Linked DNA regions of Homo sapiens: regions 2 and 3 are each linked to region 1. The links are contacts of gene promoters, found by promoter capture Hi-C in human tissues and cell types (Jung and others, 2019). All regions are on one chromosome and are shown on one strand. The core of a region is centred on a gene start or on the middle of the fragment in contact, and the rest is flanking DNA. Distances in the headings are between cores, read along the strand shown. Region 1 holds the start of VPS28 (VPS28 subunit of ESCRT-I). Region 2 has its middle 12 kb from the start of ZNF252P-AS1. Region 3 has its middle 5.7 kb from the start of ZNF252P-AS1.

Region 1 (2,886 bases), core at 362-2,861:
ATGAAACATCCTCTAGGCTCTGGGGGGGGCACAGCACTGAGACCTGGGGAGCAGAGCCAGGGCCGACTCAAAGATGGCCCCTAAGCCAGGCGCTGGCTCACACCTGTAATCCCAGCACTTTGGGAGGCCGAGGTGAGCGGATCACCTGAGGTCAGGAGTTTGAGACCAGCCTGGCCAACATGGTGAAACCCTGTCTCTACTAAAATTACAAAATTAGCCGGACGTTGTGGCATACGGTTGTAATCCCAGCTACTCAGGAGGCTGAGGCAGGAGAATCGCTTGAACCCAGGAGGTGAAGGTTTCAATGAGCCAAGACCGAGCCACTGCACTCCAGCCTGGGAGACAGAGCAAGACCCTGTCTCAAAACAAACAAACGAACAACAAAAAAAACCGACAAAAAAAGACAGCCCGTAAGTGCCAGGTCCTGGAGACCCAGGGCTCCATGAAGAGCTCTCCTAAGCTCAATAATGGTGAACACACAGGGTGCTATAGGGGCTACCAGAAAAAGTGAGGTACTATGGACACTCAGGAGAGCGGGGCGGGGGCTGCAGTGGAGTGTGGTTCAAGCTGGAGGTTGAGGGAGGTTATGAGGGCGGCAGGCAGCTGTTTGATGGCCCACGAGGAGAGTTTGGGGCACAGGAAACAACACACTTAACAGCCCGCCTTTAAGTAGGCATGAACTTGGAGGAACCAACAAGCTGAAGGTGCAGCTTCTCGAAAGAGGGGGTCCTAGGGAATGAAGATGGAGAGGTGCCCCTAGTTGGGCAGCGAGCTGTGGAGAAACAATGGGAGCGGGGCCCGTGGGAGGGTCCTGCCTAGCACGGAAGCTGGGCCAGCTCCAGACGTTCTCTCTTTGAAAGTGGAGCCGTCAGATCCGCCGAGGGATTTGAGATAGGATTAAAATAAAGGAGTTACGAACGACACCCCTGTTTTTGGCCCAATGGGCCGGGCAGTAAGATAAACTCAGACGGAGAGGGGAGGAGGAGCGGGCCTGGCGGGCAGGCGCAGGAAGCTCTCGGTGGAGAGGCCCGGGAGAGCAGCGCTGAGCCGGCTAACTGGGAGTGGACGGTGCTACCGGGGATGGGAGAAGAGCAGAAGTGAGGGAAGGCCGCCCGCGCCGAAGCCCTGGGGCGCCCCAGCCGAGGAAGAGCCGGGAAAGGGCGTCGCCGCTCATGTAGGTAGGGAACGTCTGGGTCAAGCTCTCCGAGGGTCGAGGCCATTGCGAGCCGCGGGGTGGGGACCGAGGCTGCTCGGCAGCCGTCACGGAGCCGCCAGGCAGGAGAGCGCCGAGGAGCCAACCGCCCCAACCACGCAGGAGCTTCTGCCTAACAGCGAAAGCGGACGTTCTGCGGCCACAAGCAAATGTGCAAAACAACCTCGCAGAGTGGACAACGAGCAAGGAAAGCCAGTTTCTAGAACATGCCAATAACGTGACTTTTGCGGCGCTCAGCCGAAGCTGTGCCGGGGCCTAGGCGCGCCCAGAGGGTGCCAGGCCCTGAGTCGCCTCTCCCCACTCTGCCCCTTCCCCGCCCACCGGCCGGGCCCCGGGTACCTGGACGGCTCGCGGTCGGGAAGATGGCGCCGGGGGCGGGGTGCGCTCGGTCAGCGACTCGGCATTCGCCCCTCATGTCTGCGCCTGCGCGCGTCGGGGCGACCCCCCGCCCCTCCGTCCCCATCGGCAGCTCGGCGCTCAGCCCTCACGCCTGCGCCCGCGCCCGCCCGGACTTCGGGACATTCCCTCCAGCCGCGCAGCCCCCGGGACGTAACCGGCGCAGCAGACTCGAAGCCCGGTCTTACCCCGCCCACCCGCCTGCCAGGCAGCCACGGGGAGGGAGGCAGCAGCTTCATTTATTTTATTTTTTTTTTTTTTTGAGACGGAGTCTCGGTCTGTCGCCCAGGCTGGAGTGCAGTGGTGCGATCTCGGCTCACTGCAAGCTCCGCCTCCCGGGTTCACGCCATTCTCCTGCCTCAGCCTCCGGAGTAGCTGGGACTACAGGCTTCCACCACCACGCCCGGCTAATTTTTGGTATTTTTAGTAGAGACGGGGTTTCACCATGTTAGCCAGGATGGTCTCGATCTCCTGACCTCGTGATCCGCCCGCCTGGGCCTCCCAAAGTGTTGGGATTACAGGCGTGAGCCACCGCGCCCGGCCAGCAGCTTCATTTATTAGGGGCTTCGGTGAGGGTGGGGAAAGGCAGCGCCAGGGTCAGAGGCGCCGAAAGAAGAGCTTGGAGCCGTGGTCCAGCGTGCACTCGCCGGGGCCCGGCCGACTGGGCTGCAGCTGGCGCAGGGCGTCCCTGTCCTCAGCGCAGAGGCGTCTGCTGCACAGCTGCAGTTCCCGGAGCTGCGCGGCTATCTTGTCCCACAGGCCCAGGCCCAGGGGACCCTGGACGGCGCAGCCTGCGGAGGGGAAGAGGGCAGACCTCAGCGCTGCGGGGGCCGGCGGCGTCCTGGTGCCCGCGGCAGGCTCCAGGGAACAAACTCGCTTTCGCTGAGGGCCCCAGGGCTGTAGCGAGGGGCAGTGGGCAGAGCTCCGGAGAGGCCCCATGACTCTCCAGGAAGGGGTGGGATCATCTGCACAGCCAGCGGTCAGACAGGAGGAAGGGTGGCTCCCTTCTTTACCTCTGACAGTGCCCGATCTCAAAGTCCATGCCTACACGTCAGTCTCCCCACCCATAAGAAGGACATAATGGATCTGCTTGCAAATCTGTACATCGTGGGCCTGAGTGGATCAAGAGAACACTAAGCTCAGGAATTCAGGGAGCTGGGTGGGAAGGTACAGATGCCAGGAACTGAGGTGTGGGGAAGGGGTCTCACACCAGCACTCGGGGGCCTTCCTGGAAAAGGCGGCCTGGCCCTGGGAGGTGAAGGGGAGGGGGCACAGGA
Region 2 (3,064 bases), core at 335-2,834, 560 kb after region 1:
TTGGGTTGAAAATTCTTCTTTTTTTTTTTTTTTTTTTTTTGAGATGGAATTTTGCTCTTATTGCCCAGCCTGGAGTGCAATGGTGCAATCTCAGCTCACTGCAACCTGTGCCTCCCAGGCATGTGCCACCATGTGGCTAATTTTTGTATTTTTGTATTTTTAAGTAGAGACAGGGTTTCTCCATGCTGGTCAGGCTGGTCTCGAACTCCTGACCTCAGGTAATCCGCTCACCTCAGCCTCCCAAAGTGCTGGGATTACAGGTGTGAGCCACTGCGCCCAGCCCAGTTCTTTTAAGAATGTTGAATATTGGCCCCCATTCTCGTCTGGCTTATAGGGTTTCTGCAGAGAGATCACCTGTTAGTCTAATGGGTTTACCTTTGTAGGTGACCTGATCTTTCTCTCTGGCTGCCCTTAGCATTTTTTCCTTCATTTCAATATTGGAGAGTCTGATGATTATGTATCTTGGGTTTGATCTTCTTGTGGAGTATCTTAGTGGTGTTCTGTGTATTTCCTGAATTTGAATGTTGGCATATCTTGCTAGGTTGGGGAAGCTCTCCTGGATAATATCCTGAAGTGTGTTTTCCAACTTGGTTCCATTTTCCCCATTGCTTTCAGATACACCAATCAATCGTAGGTTTGGTCTTTTCACATAGACCCATATTTCTTGGAGGCTTTGTTTGTTCCTTTTAATTCTTTTCTCTGTAATCTTGTTTTCATGCCTTATTTCAGCAAGGTGATCTTCAATCTCTACTATCCTTCTTCCACTTGATCAGTTCGGCTATTGATACTTGTATATGCTTCAGGAAGTTCTTGTGCTGTGCTTTTCAGCTCCATCAGGTCATTTATGTTCCTCTCTAAACTGGTTATTCTAGTTAGCAGTTCCTGTAACCTTTTACCAAGTTTCTTAGCTTCCTTGCATTGGGTTACAACATGGTTTTTTTTTTAGCTCAGAGGAGTTTGTTATTACCCACCTTCTGAAGCCTACTTCTGTCAATTCATCAGTCTCATTCTCCATCCAGTTTGGTGCCCTTGCTGGAGAAGAGTTGTGATCATTTGGAAGAGAAGAGACATTCCGGTTTTTGGAATTTTCAGTGTTTTTGCACTGTTTTTTCCTCATCTTCGTGGATTTATTTACCTTTGATCTTTGAGGCTGATGACCTTTGGATGGAGTTTGTGTGTGTGTGTGGGGTCTTTTATGTTGATGTTGTTATTGTTGCTTTGTGTTTGTTAGTTTTTCTTCTAACAGTCAGACGCCTCTTCTGCCAGTCTGCTGCCGTTTGATGGAGGTCCACTCCAGACCCTGTTGACTTGGTTATCACCAGTGGAGGCTGCAGAACAGCAAAGATTGCCACCTGCTCCTTCCTCTAGAAGCTTTATCCCAGAGTGGCACTGACCTGATGCCATCTGGAGCTCTCCTGTGTGAGGTGTCTCTTGAGCCGTTAAGAGGTGTCTCCCAGTCAGGAGGCATGGGGTTCAGGGACCCACCTGGGGAGGCAGTCTGTCCCTCAGCAGAACTGGTGTGCTGTGCTAGGAGAATCCCCTTTGTCAGGATCAGCTCCTCTCTTCACAGCCAGGCAGGAAAGATTAAGTCTGCTGAAGCTGCGCCCACAGCTGCCCCTCCCTCCAGGGGCTCTGTCCCAGGGAGGTGAGAGTTTTATCTGTAAGCTCCTGACTGGGGCTGCTGCATTTCCTTTAGAGATGCCCTGCCCAGTGAGGAGAAATCGAGAGAAGCAGTTTGGCCATAGCTGCTTTGCCGCACTGTGGTGTTCCGCCCAGTCCAAACCTCCTGGTCTCCTTAGCACCGTCAGGGGAAAACCGCCTACTAAAGCCTCAGTAATGTCAGAAGATGCTCCTTCCCCCTCCAAGCTCGAACATCCCAGGTTGACTCCAGACTACTGTGCTGGCAGTGAGAATTTCAAGCCAGTGGTTCTTAGCTTGCTGGGATCCATGGGAGTGGGACTCGCTGATTGAGACCACTTGGCTCCCTGGCTTCAGCCCCCTTTCCAGGGGAGTGAATAGTTCTGTCTCACTGGGATTCCAGGTGCCACCAGGGTATGAAAAAAACTCCTGCACCTAGCTCGATGCCTGCCTAAACAGCCGCCCAGTTTTGTGCTTGAAACCCAGGACCCTGGTGGTGTAGGCTCATGAGGGAATCTCCTGATCTGCAGATTGTAAAAACCATGGGAAAAGTGTAGTACCTAGGCTGGGTAGCACAGTCCCTCATGGCTTCCCTTAGCTGGGGCAGGGAGGTCCCCCGGCTCCTTGCACTTCCTGGGTGAAGCGATGTTCCTCCCTGCTTCTGCTCCCTCTCCATGGGTTGCACCCACTACCTAACCAGTCCCAATGAGATGAACTGGGTACCTCAGTTGGAAATGCAGAAATCACCCATCTTCTGTGTTGGTCTCAATGGGAGCTGCAGACTGGAGCTGTTTGTATTTGGCCATCTTGGCTCCTTCCTCAATGCCTACTTTTTTTTTTTTTTAAAGGGAGCAAATCAACAACCTAATCTTCTACCTTAAAACACTGGAGAAAACAAACAAACAAACAAAAAAACTAAACCCAAATCAAGCAGAAGGTAGAAAATAAGGAATATAACAGAAACTAATGAACTAGAGAATAGAAAAAAGGCTTAATACCAATTCTTCACAAACTCTTCCAAAAAAACAAAAGAGAACACTTCCCAATTCATTCAATGAAAACATATATAAAAATTATACACCATTACTGAGTGGGATTTATCCCAGAAATGCAAGGTTTGTTTAGCATCCTAAAATCAATTAATACATCATATCCAAAGAATAAAGGAAAAAATCAAGAAAGGAAAATAAAGACATTTTCAGACAAACAAAAACTCACAGAATAATGCTAACTTAAGTACAAGAAATACTAAAGGGAATTTTTCAAACTGAAAATAATGATCTTAGACAAAAGTACAGAACTGCAGAAAGGAATGAAAAACACTAGAAAGGGTAACTCTAAATGTAATGTATATATACCGTCAAAAATAGCAACAGAATAAACTCTCTGGTGAGGTTTCAAAGTAGGTAGTACAAAATAAGTGACT
Region 3 (2,987 bases), core at 477-2,976, 580 kb after region 1:
AGATAGGTTGGACTTCAAAATGAAAAACTTTTGTGCTTCAAGAAATGCCATCAAGAAAGTGAAAATACAACCTATAGAATGGGAGAAAATACTTGCAAATCATATATCTGATAAGGGCACAATATCCAGAATATATAAATAACTTTTACGACTTGTCTAAACAGACTACCATAGGCTAAATGGCTTTGACAACAATTTATTTCTCACAGTTCTGGAGGCTGAAGCCCAAGATCAGGGTGCCAGCTGGCCGTTCTTGGTGAAGGTGGCTCCCTGGTTTGCAGACTGTGGTTTTCACACAGCACCTTTGCCTAGCGGAAATGGGAAGCCTCGGGCCCTTCATCCTAATCCTGTCTTGGGCCTCCACCCTCATTACCGCATCTGAACCATCTCAGTGGGGACTGGGTTTCAACACAGGCATTTTGTGGTGGATACAAACATTCTGCTATAGCGCAACTCGACAATAAAAAACATCCCAACTGTAAAGGAGCTGGAAAGGCAGAAAGCTAAGGTCAGTGGGGGATGCTCTGAGCGTCTGAAGACAGCGCAGCTATCCGTAAGGATCACATGCGGCTTCCCTCGCCTCCAGCTGCGCAAGGGCAGGTGCGGGCAAGGAAGTCCCACTGGGGCTTTTGGGGACCCAGCACAGCTCGGGCGAGTGGGTGAGGGTAGAGAGGATGCCTCAGTGCGTCCGGACACCACCGAGACCATAGTTCTCCAAGGGCACCTAGAGTGGATCCAGCTGAGTTCAAGTCCAGACGCTGCCTCAGGACTTCTCAGGACCACACTTCCCGCCCAGGTTGTTTCCTCCCTCTGGGAGCAGGAAAGGAGATGAGTCTTGGGGTGTGCGTGGGACTACTGGCCTGGAGCTGCTGTCAGCTCTGAACCCTCCCCCTCTCTCCAGGAACGCAGTTAGGCTTTTCGCGCTAGTCCCCCGGTAGGGCTGGCCGTCTGGGGCGCTCGGGCTTCCTTCCCTGACGGGCTGCAGGGTCTTTTGTGGCGTTTCTGTCTCCTTCGCCGCAGTGTGATCTATTGTTAACAGGGGTAAATCCACATGGGTCTGCTGCAGCCTCAATTCTTGCCTCCTCAGAAGAAAGAATTTGACGGAGAGGCATGAAGCATAAGGCAGAGGGAAAGATGGAGGCAAGTTTTAGAGCAGGAGTGAACATTTACTAAAAAGCTTTAGAGCAGGAACAAAAGGAAGCGAAGTACACTTGGAAGAAGGCCAAGTGGGCCACTCAAGAGATTAAGTGCACGGTTTGACCCTTGACTTGGGGTTTTATACACTGGCAAGGTTGTGGCGGTCGGGGGTTGGGGAGCATCCCTTCTCCTCTGATTCCTCCCTTGGGGTGGGCTGTCCACATGTGCAGGGTGGAAGTGGGGACACATGCCCAGTGTGTTTACTGGAGTTGTGTGTATGCTCACTTAAGGTGTTTCTTTCCTTACCAGTTGAGTCTTCTAATAAGGTATCAACCGGTTAAACTCTGCCACTTCACCGCCCTGTGTGCATGCTCAAGCCCACTTGCCCAACTCCTAAGATCTCATTGGGAAGCTGCTGATCACCAGCTTCAGGTTTTTTCTATCTGTTGGGAGACTGCCTTTCCCTTGTGCTGGCAGCAACCAATTCTTATTTGAGAGAGACAACTAACAACTACCTGACTGTCCCCTGATGGTCACCTGGTGTTCCTGGTGGGTGGGAGGGCTCTCCTGACTGCCTGACTACCTACTGTAACACTATCACCCCCACTGAAGCTCCCGAGCTCTTGTGGAAGACGTTATCCACTGAGCCTGTTCCCAAGAAGCAAGATTTTGACTTTACTAAACCCTCCACAATCTGTCAGATACAGCGCTGCATGGATAAATAGCTGTGGATGACTGACCCAGGAAGGTGCTGGGGTAAGCGGGCTCCTGAGAGACAAACATGCTCGAGAGAGAACTTTCTATTCAGTCAGCCTTTGAGCAAACGCTTCTGTTACATACAGCAGGCATGGTGTATTAGTCTTGTCTTAGGCCGGGCGCAGTGGCTCATGCCTGTAATCCCAGCACTTTGGGAGGCTGAGGTGGGCAGATCACAAGGTCAGGAGATCGAGAACATCCTGGCTAACACGGTGAAACCCCATCTCTACTAAAAATACAAAAAGTTAGCCAGGCAAGGTGGTGGGTGCCTGTAGTCCCAGCTACGAGGCAGGAGAATGGTGGGAACCTGGGAGGCAGAGCTTGCAGTGAGCCGAGATCATGCCACTGCACTCCAGCCTGGGTGACAGAGCGAGACTCCATCTCAAAAAAAAAAAAAAAAACAGAAAAAAGAAAGTCTTTTCTTTCATTGCTATATTCTCTCATTGCTGAGATTGGGCAATTTATATTTTTTTAAAAAAGGTTTAAGAACCAGGGGAGCTGACAGCATAAACCTCTGTCCCAGGGCTGGAGAAAATGAAATTAGATGTCTCAGCTCAAGGTGAGACAGGAATAAAGGGGCAAATTCCTCCTTGCTCCACTTTTTCTATTTCACATCCCCAACAGATTGGATGATGTGCACCCATATTGGGAAGGGGAATCTACCTTGCTGATTCAAATGCTAATCTCATCCAGAAGTGCCCTTGCCCAGAAATAATGTTTAATCTGGGCACCCCATGCCTAGTCAAGTTGACAGGTAAAGTTAACCATCCCGGTAATTATTATCGTTTTTTCCTACTTCACAGATGAGGGACCTAAATCATATAGAAGCTGAGTAATTTGGCCAAGGTCACACTTCTAATAATTGACCAAACTAGAACCCAGGTAGATTGGTGCCCATGCACTATCATGTACTGACCAGCTGAAAAGTCTAAGACTTTGACCCAAGCTTAGAGATCTTGGGCAAGTCCCTTAAGCTCTCTGAGAATCCATTTCCTTCATTTATAAAATGGAGATAATAACAAAATGTATGTCATCTACCTCATTAGTTAGTTGTAAGATCAAGTGAACTGTTAATAACTGGACATGAACTAATT

Evidence for each region. Contacts are between HindIII fragments. The study calls those that stand out against the background at their distance.
Region 2: a fragment that was not itself captured here is called in contact with the fragment with the promoter of VPS28 in region 1 in 1 of the 25 tissues and cell types used here (lymphoblastoid cells).
Region 3: a contact is called between a fragment that was not itself captured here and the fragment with the promoter of VPS28 in region 1, in 2 of the 25 tissues and cell types used here (lymphoblastoid cells and spleen).

What each region holds. Positions count from the first base shown.
Region 1 is chr8:144,426,937-144,429,822 of GRCh38, forward strand. It overlaps VPS28 (VPS28 subunit of ESCRT-I), which reads right to left and starts at 1,612. Exons shown (of 10, transcript NM_016208.4): 1 at 1,553-1,612; 2 at 1-43. The coding sequence starts at 9. TONSL (tonsoku like, DNA repair protein) reads right to left here. Exons shown (of 26, transcript NM_013432.5): 26 at 1,839-2,400. The coding sequence ends at 2,207. RefSeq lists a silencer at 1,438-1,787. The HindIII fragment of the contact is 10,135 bases long and covers 464-2,886 here.
Region 2 is chr8:144,988,805-144,991,868 of GRCh38, forward strand. It overlaps the pseudogene ZNF252P. Among named protein-coding and RNA genes, the nearest start is that of ZNF252P-AS1, 12 kb to the right of the region's middle. The HindIII fragment of the contact is 3,981 bases long and covers 1-3,064 here.
Region 3 is chr8:145,006,999-145,009,985 of GRCh38, forward strand. No RefSeq gene overlaps it. Among named protein-coding and RNA genes, the nearest start is that of ZNF252P-AS1, 5.7 kb to the left of the region's middle. The HindIII fragment of the contact is 4,220 bases long and covers 1-2,987 here.